Regions from separate parts of the Homo sapiens genome. Here region 2 is linked to region 1. Evidence: promoter capture Hi-C in human tissues and cell types (Jung and others, 2019). All regions are on one chromosome and are shown on one strand. Each heading gives the region's core, a stretch centred on a gene start or on the middle of the fragment in contact. The rest is flanking DNA. Distances are from core to core; before and after follow the strand shown.

Evidence for each region. The method cuts DNA at HindIII sites, captures the fragments that hold promoters and counts their contacts. A contact is called where the count stands out against the background at its distance.
Region 2: a contact is called between a fragment that was not itself captured here and the fragment with the promoter of RBFOX2 in region 1, in 1 of the 25 tissues and cell types used here (dorsolateral prefrontal cortex).

What each region holds. Positions count from the first base shown.
Region 1 is chr22:36,026,736-36,031,930 of GRCh38, forward strand. It overlaps RBFOX2 (RNA binding fox-1 homolog 2), which reads right to left and starts at 2,089. Exons shown (of 14, transcript NM_001349999.2): 1 at 1,505-2,089. The coding sequence starts at 1,690. RefSeq lists a silencer at 2,255-2,324. The HindIII fragment of the contact is 7,839 bases long and covers 1-5,195 here.
Region 2 is chr22:35,761,011-35,766,102 of GRCh38, forward strand. RBFOX2 (RNA binding fox-1 homolog 2) reads right to left here. Exons shown (of 14, transcript NM_001349999.2): 7 at 4,413-4,473; 8 at 405-458; 9 at 192-284. Among named protein-coding and RNA genes, the nearest start is that of APOL5, 46 kb to the left of the region's middle. The HindIII fragment of the contact is 3,561 bases long and covers 785-4,345 here.

The DNA.
Region 1 (5,195 bases), core at 839-3,338:
AAAAGCAGGCAAACAAAACAAAAGAATTCAAAAATAAACACCAAGAGGGTCACTTTACCTAAATCAACAGAAGTAACAGGGTAAACTCTGCAAAGGAGACCAAGAAGCATACAACAAACATGCTAGGCTTAAGTACAGCTCTGTCCCTAACACAGGAAGTCAGGCAGAGGCTTGAAAAGCAGGGAGCAGAGCACAGGAAGTCTTTTAGCACTGCAGAGATTTCCAAGAGTGGTGTAATGGAGACAGCACAGGAATAGGAATTAGAAGACCAGGCTTCTAGTTCTAGTTTTACTATTAGCTAACTGGGTGGCCTTACCCAAGTCACCATCTTCTCTGGACTTCTGATTCCCCATCTATAAAATAAGGTGGTTAAAACAAGCTGGGACTTGAATCTCCTCCAAAAAAAACAAAGATGAAAACTATTGACTCTCCTCCACCAAAAAGTGCACATCACCTACTATGAGTAAGAATCTTCCAAGTCTTCCCAGGTTAAGAACCCCTGGAAAAGATGATGTCTAGTCCTCCTAGCATCCCTCTAACATCCTATGACTCCGAGAGAATTAGGCACAAGTCTGCACAACTGTTGGTAGGTGAGACTCATCATGTCATAGCAGTATTTTCTGGGCAAAGACCAAATCGTAAAACCTCCAAAGGTTTCAAGGTCTTCTTCAAAACTATGAAGTCAGCTGACATCAATACCTTTCCCATTCCCTACCCAAATTAACCACGTTTATCTTTCAATCCAGAATTGAGAATCCAGTCTTCTAATAGCCCTATAAAAAAATTTTTTTTATAGCCCGGGACATTAAAGAGCTATTTTGTGTCCTGGTGATGTAGAATGCAATTGGCAAAGAACAGGAGGGACATGTCTAGTGTCTCCCTTCAGACTCATTAGTATGCTCCACAAAGTAAATGAGACTGAGCACCACCGTGTCCCCATAACATTACCAAACTCCTTGTACTTCTCACACTCTGTGTGATTTAACCCACAATCTCAGCCACATCCCCTCGGGGCTCTCTCGAGGAGTTTTCTTTTCACTCCTCTCATTGAAATGCCACTTCTCTTCCCCATCCCAGCGTGTGCCCAGGGCTGCCAAAAGGTACTCCCTCTTCTCGGGAGGTTTCCCACCAGATCTCCTTTTCCTCGACTCAGTCCAGAGAAGCCAGGATTTCCCGGCTTCCACTCCACCCCAAGGCACTAAGGAAGGATTTGAAAAAATGGAATCCATCTCAACCTTGTTCGATTTCCCCCCAAAACCTATCCACTCGTCGTGCCTCCTGGCCCCTCAGGAATCAGGACCCTCTCGGGCACACCAGGTTCAGTCCTGCAACCTTCGTTCCTAGCCCGAGCTCGCCCCACCTTCCAACCAGGCCCCGAATGGCCCCCCATCCCACCTCCAACCCAGGACTCCCGGAGGCCCTCCCTCTCTCCAAGCCGGGGAGCCCGGTGTCGACCCTCACGCCCACCCCCGCAATAACTGGGCGCCCCGTCCCGCGCGGTCACCTGCATCCCGCCGCCACCGTCGGCCGCCGCCTCCTCAGTGCGCGGCCGCTTGCTCAGGCCGGGATCGGCTCCGTCTCCTCCCGCTCCGGGCACCGGCAGCTCCAGCTCCGACTCCCGCTTCATGCCCCGGGCGGCGGCGCCGGGCCCGAGCTGAGGCGGCTGATGCGGCTGGGCGCCCTCCGCCATCCGCCCGCGCCCCCCTCGCCTCCGGGAGCCGGGCGACCCGCGACAGGCCACCTCCCCCTGGGCCTCGGCCCCGACTGTCGCGACAGGCGGGCGCGCGCCTGCCCCCGCCCCCGCGTGCGTGCGTGCGTGCGCGCGAGCGGACTCCGCGCCCCTCCGCGCCTCGCGGCCGCCGCTCCTTGCCTGACCGCTTGCTCCCCGCCCGCCCGCCCGCCGGGTTGTCGGCGCGGGGCCACTGGCGGGTCGTGATGAGCACTCGCTCGCGCCCCCGCACGCACACGCGAAACCCGGCCCGGCCCGCCGCGCCGCCCCGCCTCTCGCACTCCCGGAGCTCGCCCACCGGCCGCGCTGGCTCACACTCTCCCTCACAGCACGCCGGCCGAGGGAGGAAGGGGGCGGTCCGGGCTCCCGAGGCGTGGGGAGGGCTGTTTATTTTGGGGGGAGGAGGGGCGCGAGGCAGGAACGAGCTGACTGGCCGGGATCCTCCGACCCGCCACTGTGGCAGCACCGGGAAGGCGGGGAGAGAGAAAGAGGGAGGGAGGGAGGGACCGGGATGTAGAACTCCAGCCCGCGCGGGAGGCTACGGCGAGGGGGGCGGTGGCGGCCCGCGGGGGGGGCGGGGCCAGGCCCCCTCGGCAATCTCCGTAGTCTCCTCGCTGGCTGCCCGAGGGAGGCCGGGAAGCGATCGGGGAAGCTCGGGAATCTCCGGCACGGGCCTGGGATTGTCCTGGAGGCACAGCGCGGCTGGAGTGCGGGGCAGCGCGGGGGGGGCGGGGTCTGTCTCCTTTCTGGGCGGGGCCGTATCCTGGAGCAGGCGGGGCTTGAGAGACCCGAAGGCCAGGGAGTGGCTCCTGCTTGCGGTACTAGTTGTACAGAGTTAAGTCCTGAGTTTACTCGCCTGAGCACCTTGGTTCCCGGAGAGGGAATGGGCACTCTGTGAGAGGCAGGCTATTTGCCTGCTTCCCCTCCCGCAGAAGAAAAAATGTCTCAAATTGGAAGGTCGAGGAATGAAGCCACCCCTCTATGGTTCACCCCAGTTCTGAGAGCTTTTACTCTAATATAACTCACATTCCTAATGAAGTTAGTAATAATACCCGATGTTTGTAAGAGCTTTAGAGTTTGCACAATGCATCCACAGACCCGTTTCAAACTGGTGATATAAGTAGATACCATGATCTCCATTTCATTGATGATGAAACTGAACCTTAGTTAAATCCTGCAGCAAAAAAGTGGCAGATCCGGAATTCAGAACACGAGAACATATTCTCTTTCTTCGTACCTTGCTGCCTGAGGAGCACTTTATGACTTACCAACTTCGTGGAGATAGAGATATCTGTGCAATAGATTCTCTCCCCTACCAGACTGTGAGGACAAGGACTGCAGTGACTTCCTCTGAGTTCCATATCGTGCCCTGTACGTTATAGAAATAAAAGGATATTGCGTGAATAACCTGGATTCTAATCTTGGCTTTGCTAACTAGCTTAAACAAGTTACTTCATCTCTTTGGACCTCAGCTCCATCATTTGTAAAATGAGATGGTTTGGATCAGTGGCTTTCAACCAAGGAGAAATTTTGCCATTCCACCACCTCCACTCCCACATTTGTCAGTGACTGAAGGCATTTTTTTTTTTTTTTTTTTTTTTTTTTTTGAGACAGAGTCTCGCTCTGTCGCCCAGGCTTAAGTGCAGTGGCGCGATCTCGGCTGACTGCAACCTCTGCCTCCTGGGTTCAAGCGATTCTCCTGCCTCAGCCTCCCCAGTAGCTGGGACTACAGGTGTGCGCCACCAACTAATTTTTGTATTTTTAGTAGAGATGGGGTTTCACCATGTTGGCCAGGCTGGTCTCGAACTCCTGACTTCAGGTGATCCGCCTGCCTCGGCCTCCCAAAGTGCTGAGATTACAGGAGTTAGCTGCCGCGCCTGGCCGACTGAAGGCATTTTTGATTGTTACAGTGGGGAGGTGCTGCTGGCATCTAGTGTGTAGAAGCCAGGAATGTTGCTTGACATCCTATCATGCACAGGACGGTCCCCCCAGGAGAGTTATCCAACCCCAAATGTCAATAGTGCGGAGGTTGAGAAACGCTGGGTTAGATGATTTCCAAGGTCATTTCCAACCAGTGTGTGATTTGGCCTTTGAACCTGGGTTTAACCTGGCTGGGGCTGGAACAGTACAACAGTAAAGATCCCTGCTTCAGAGTCAGACCAACCCAGATGAGAACGCAGGCTTCCCACCTCCTGCCCACGTAATCTGGGACCAGTGGTGACTAAGAACTTCCATATAAAAGGTGTTTGGGGATTGCAGACTGGTTGGAAGGGAAGTCGGGAGGACTTGCCTTGAAGGTGAGTTGTTGTATTGAGCATATTGTTTGTATTACTTAGGCTGTGTTATAAATCAGTAAAAATAGCAGAGTTTTAGCTCTGCCACCTGCAAGTCATGATGCCTTGTGACAGCTACTTACCCCCTCTGTGTCTCAGTTTCTTCATCTGCAAATTAGGATAACAATAATACCTTCCTGAAAAGATTATTGTAAGAATTTAATGTTATCACGTTTAGAACTTTGAACGGAATGATTTAGGATAAGCGCTCCATAAGTGTTACAGCTAACACTTATAGCTAACTAATAATAGCTTATTAGTAGTACCATTATCACTTTATTCACTTTTTTTTTTTCAGATGGAGTCTCGCTCTGTCACCCAGACTGGAGTGCAGTGGTGTGATCTCGGCTCACTGCAACCTCCACCTCCTGGGTTCAAGCAATTCTTGTGCCTCAACTTCCCAAGGAGCTGTGATTACAGGCGCCCACCACCACGCCCGGCTAATTTTTTGTATTTTTAGTAGAGACAGGGTTTCACCATGTTGGCCAGGCTGGTCTCGAACTCCTGACCTCAAGTGATTCCCCCCCTTTGGCCTCCCGAAGTACTGGGATTACAGGCATGAACCACCAGGCCTGACCTTTATTCACATTTTAAATGAGAGTGAAAAAACATTCATTGTCAAGATCAAAGAATATCATTATCATTATTATTGGGTTTTTTTTAATTATGTAAGGTGACTTGAGTGGGGCTGCTAGAGATTCACATGCGGCAAGCAAAGCACCCCAGTAACCCCTTGGTGCAACCACTATGCTGGGCAAATTACTTTGTTTCACTAAGCCTTCCATTCCTCATTTGTAGGATAACAATAATAGTCACAGTGTTGTTCTAAGGATTAAATGGGACAAAAGTAAACACTTAGCACAGTGCCTAACATAGTAACTGCTTAATAGGTGGTAATTATTCATCAACTAATTTGGTTAGTGATACAGTAAGCTTAACCAGGGGCCTTGGAAAGAGAAGCCTTAAACAACTTCTTCTTCTTCTTCTTCTTTCTTCTTTCTTCTTTCTTCTTTCTTCTTTCTTCTTTCTTCTTCTTTCTTCTTCTTCTTCTTCTTTTTTTTGAGACAGGATCTCACTGTCTCCCAGGCTGGAGTGCAGTGGCCCAATCTCAGCTCACTGCAACCCCCGCCTCC
Region 2 (5,092 bases), core at 1,315-3,814, 270 kb before region 1:
GTGCAATCTTAATATTTGGTCAGGAAAATTCTAGCACAGGTTAAGCAGGACAGGGCACTGGGATAGTATTTAATATCCCTCTCAAGAAATTTCCATTTCAGTTATGTACTGTACTAGGAAAAAAAAAAACAGTACATGATAGTTCACTCACAACAGTCAAAATCCATGCCAGGCCAACATAGGCTACTTACTGATTAAAGGAATGTAAGTGTTGATACCCCCTCTTCCTGATAGGGGCACTGCTGCATCATTGCCTAGGGACACATCTGCTTGAAAGCTGGATGCTGATTGGATTTTTAAAAAATTTAAAAATGCAAGAAGATTAAAAAGGAGTCACAAATTGAAAAACAGCAGATGCTATTACAATTAAATAGCACAAGTGGAAACATTTACTTAAATACTACCTGCATATAACTCCGGACCATATACAGCTCCAACTACTGGGCTTAATTTCCAACCTGAAACACACAAAATGGAAGGTAAGCATTTAAGACTGTTTGAGGAAAGGGATGATCAGTGCATGTCAAGTTGGCTTCAGCCATCTCTGGGGCTATTTTTGCCTATTATCAACTTCTCTTTGGAATTCCAGCTTGGGGTTTATATGAGAGAGTAACAGTAGTAGAACTAGGACACAGTGAAGAGATAATGAGGGGCTGGGGCTGGGGGGCTTGGCAGGTGTCATGATGTTGGGAGGAGGAAGATGGAGAGGGAATGAGAGGAGAAAAAATAAATAGAAATAAATCCTAGAGTTTGGTAAAGTGTTCTCACAGAATTACCCTGGATGACCTATCCTTCATTTAAAAAAAGAAGGCCGACTATATGTCACTCTGAACCATGCTGTGATGCATTTTCTCAACCCTGTTTATTACTCTAGTTGTTTTAATAAAGGTATCCATGGGCTGAACTCAAATTCAACCTAGATCTTTGACTCCATGTTTGGCTATACAATGCTGGTATTCCAGGTAAACTGAAATCCACTTTTACTCGGATTTACCATTGGGATTTTACTGGGGTTCACCAACTAAAAAAGGAAAGACATGAAATAGTAAAATTCAAGGTACATTCCCAACTTCAGTGCATGTTTTCTGAGGCTTTAATGTGTAATAATCACCTTTAAGTTAATCAGACTTCTTAGCTAAAGAACACCAGAATACTGTGGAACATTAGCTTAAATATTTATAAATATTAAGAGTTTCCAAATAACATTATGTTTAATGTCAACTTTATTTCTTCTTTCCCTTTTTTATATTTATAGGAATATGGCAAGTATTTTTTAAAAAGGAATAATATACGATTGCTCACTGCGAGTGAATAAAAGTAGAATTCCACATGAAAACTTTAATCAATATTAACTGAATTTTACATATAAGCAAAAATACTCTATATTATATATTTTCTGACTCATTTGTCTTTTTATATTAAGACCCTAGCATTGTGCCACACTATTCTATAAATATACGAATGAAAAGAAAAAGGCCAGAATTGGCCTCCTCTTTTTTTTTTTTTTTTTTTTTGAGACAGAGTCTTGCTCTGTCACCCAGGCTGGAGTGCAGTGGCGCAGTTTCGGCTCACCACAACCTCGGCTCCTGGGTTCAAGTGATTCTCATGCCTCAGCCTCCCAAGTAGCTGGGACTACAGGCACGTGCCACCATGCCTGGCTAGTTTTATACTTTTAGTAGAGATGGGGTTTCACCATGTTGGCCAGGCTGGTCTTGAACTCCTAACCTCAGGTGATCCACCCGCCTCAGCCTCCCAGAGTGCTGGGGATTACAGGCTTGAGCCACTGCGTCCAGCCACAATTGGCCTTTTCAAAAGAATTATTGAAATTACCAGATTTAAATGACTGTAAGCAAGACATTATTCAAGTGAAAACCTATTCACTCTGATTCAATCCAATCTCTTATTCATCATTTTATGTGCTCATAAAATGCAATGTCTCTTCAATATTCCACATAAAATTCTGGCAAAATCTAGGTTCAAATCCTACTTGAATTGTAAGAACACAAATATTCTGCAACATCAAATTACACAAATACTGTGCAACATTTCTGCACAAATTAAGAGATTCCAACCAACCTAAATGAGAATGCTGACTGAGAATTCATTAGGAGGAACCCAACAAATTCTTCTTAGGACCTTTAACACAATAGCAGAAGGTTTCTTGCCTACTAAACCTGAATATTAATTTAGAATAATATTTTAAAAAATAACCTTTTTCTTTCCTACCAATGCCACTATTGCCTGAGCATTCCCTTTAAATCCACATAATGGGCAGGCACCGTAGCTCAAGCCTGTAATCCCAGCACTTTGGGAGGCTGAGGCGGAGGGATCACCTGAGTCTAGGAGCTCGAGACCAGCCTGGCCAACATGGCAAAACCTCGTCTCTACTAAAAATACAAAAATTAGCCGGATGTGGTGGCACACACCTGTAATCCCAGCTACTCTGGAGGCTGAGGCACGAGTATCGCTTGAACCCGGGAAGTGGAGGTTGCAGTGAGCTGAGATCGCACCACTGTACTCCAGCCTAGGTGACAGAGAGACTCTGCCTCAAAACAAAAACAAAAATCAATATAATGGATGTATATTGACATGTTGTTAGTAATACTTTGAATATATTTAGTTTTAGAAAATTTACAATGTATTTTCACAGATGCCCTTTGACCTTCACAAAACCCAAAGAGGAAGGTAAAATAGATACCACATCTGCAATCTGAGGTCAATACTATACTTTTCTGGGTCTCATTTCCTAATAATAAGCTGGGAGGGTTGAGTTTCAATAATTTCTTAAAAAATCCTGGTGCCAAAAATCTGTGGTCTCAATTTATAAATATGAAAACAGAATTAGGTTAAAAAACTGGTCCACTGTCACGGAGTAAATAAAGAGTCAAACCTAGAAGGAGAACGTCTGTTTTCTGAATTCCAGTCAGAGGCTCTTTCTGTCACAATATTTCCCTTAGATGTAAAGAAAATTTGACATTCTTTGCCTCTCCTTTCTATTTTGTTTACTTTGAGTTTTTATCAAAATTGTAGAGACTTGTTTTTGTAAGAGCAGTGAAAAGAAAATAAGAGGTAAAGTGGGAGGCAGTGGTATCATACCGATAAAAGGAGTAAGGAAAAATGCAAATTATGCTGATAAATTTGTATCATCTATGTGAAAAGCTGGGCTAAATATATTTATTGAAGACTTTATGGGATATAGTCAATACGGATACATTTCTCCTTGATTTAAGACATTATTAGCACATACAGCCATACTCTAGCAGTGGGTTCAAACTTTTTAAAAAAACAGCAGAGCCAGGCATGGTGGCTCACGCCTGTAATCCCAGCACTTTGGGAGGCCACGGTGGGCGGATCACGAGGTCAGGAGGTTGAGACCATCCTGGCTAACACGGTGAAACCCCATCTCTACTAAAAATACAAAAAATTAGCCAGGTGTGGTGGCGGGCGCCTGTAGTCCCAGCTACTCGGGAGGCTGAGGGCAGGAGAATGGCGTGAACCTGGGAAGCAGAGCTTGCAGTGAGCCTTGATTGCGCCAGTGCACTCCAGCCTGGGTGACAAAGCGAGACTCCGTCTCAAAAAAAAAAAAAAAAAAACTCCAGCAGAAACTCCCCCCTTTATTCTAGATATTAGTAAAAGCTTATGCAGAACCCTAATTGCTCAGACTAAAGTACAGCTGAGACCTCAGAATTCAATCCATTTGGTTTCCTTTTTCTCTCCCAAACTGGCTCTGCAGAACAGTCTGCAAAACCACCACTGGGCTACAGATTAAATTTATATTCCATCTCATTCAGAGACCATGAGTCTAGATTAAATTTGGTAACTGATGTAACAAATTATTCATAGAAAATTTCCTTCTCAATGAGAAAAACTTATAAACCTTACTATATAATATGTAATCATGAAACAGAAAATGATACACACACAACCATACCCATGGCTGTTATCTCTAGGGCTAAGGAGAGCAACAGGTCCAGAATTATAAAAGTGATTAAAATATCCTCCTAATTTATTCCACTTATGCTCAGATGAATGAAAGTCAGAACTAAAAGTAAGAGTCAGTGGGCATCCAGGGGTATTACGGACAAGTCTAACATATTAGAAAGAGCTACAGCAGCTGAAAAAGAAGGTGCTCAGGTGGGATCCAATTTGGGTTAATAGGCAACTAGATAGCATGTTTGCACTGTGTAAAAGATGAACATTACTTAGAACATAACACCTTAATAACTAAAAACTTAGCTCAATTGTAATGACAAAGTTATTCTGTAAAAATAAAATACTCTCCCAGGTAAAGAGACTACTTCAACACAAATCAAACTGTCTTAAGACGGAAATAAAGACATTCTTAGAAGTTTATAAAAACTTCATATATTTACACAAGAATAAACACTCTTTCGAAGATTATAATTTCTTACCATTTGCATATGGTGTGACCATCTTCTTATTGGTCATTACACGTGCTGTAGCATTATTCACCTAAAAATAACAAGGAGAAAAAAGGGCAGGGAAGAAGTGGACCACATTAGGGAACATAAAGTTGCACATCCAATAACAGAGTATTTAGTTTAAAATGTAAATTTCTGAGAGCAGTGATTTAAATAATTAACACAGCAATATAAAATATTAATATATAGTATTTTAATTAAAGTTCTTATCAAATGAGGATAACAAGAGTAAAGTGAGTTTCTTGGTTTCCAAATATCAGTACTCCAAAGAAAATACATTTGCAAGATCTTTGGACATCTTTTTAACAGAGAAATCTCTGCACTAAGGAAAACACAGAAAAAAGTAAATAGGAAACTATATTAGCAATTCACTTTGAAGTCTGTTAATAAAACAGAGGCTTGCCACATGGGTTATGAAATAGATTGATGGAAAGGTGATAAAATAAATCTGATTTCACCTGTCCTAATGTTCAGCATTTTAAATATGTCTGTCAGAGATTTTTACTGTCTGAGGTAAGTAAACAAATATAGAAACCTAAGATTCCCCTGCTGACAGCCTTCAGGACCATTCTGAATTTTCTAGACTACATGGTCTATCAATTTAAGAACAAAGCTTTTAAGAAAGCCTTTAAAGTAGGCACTTAAAAGAA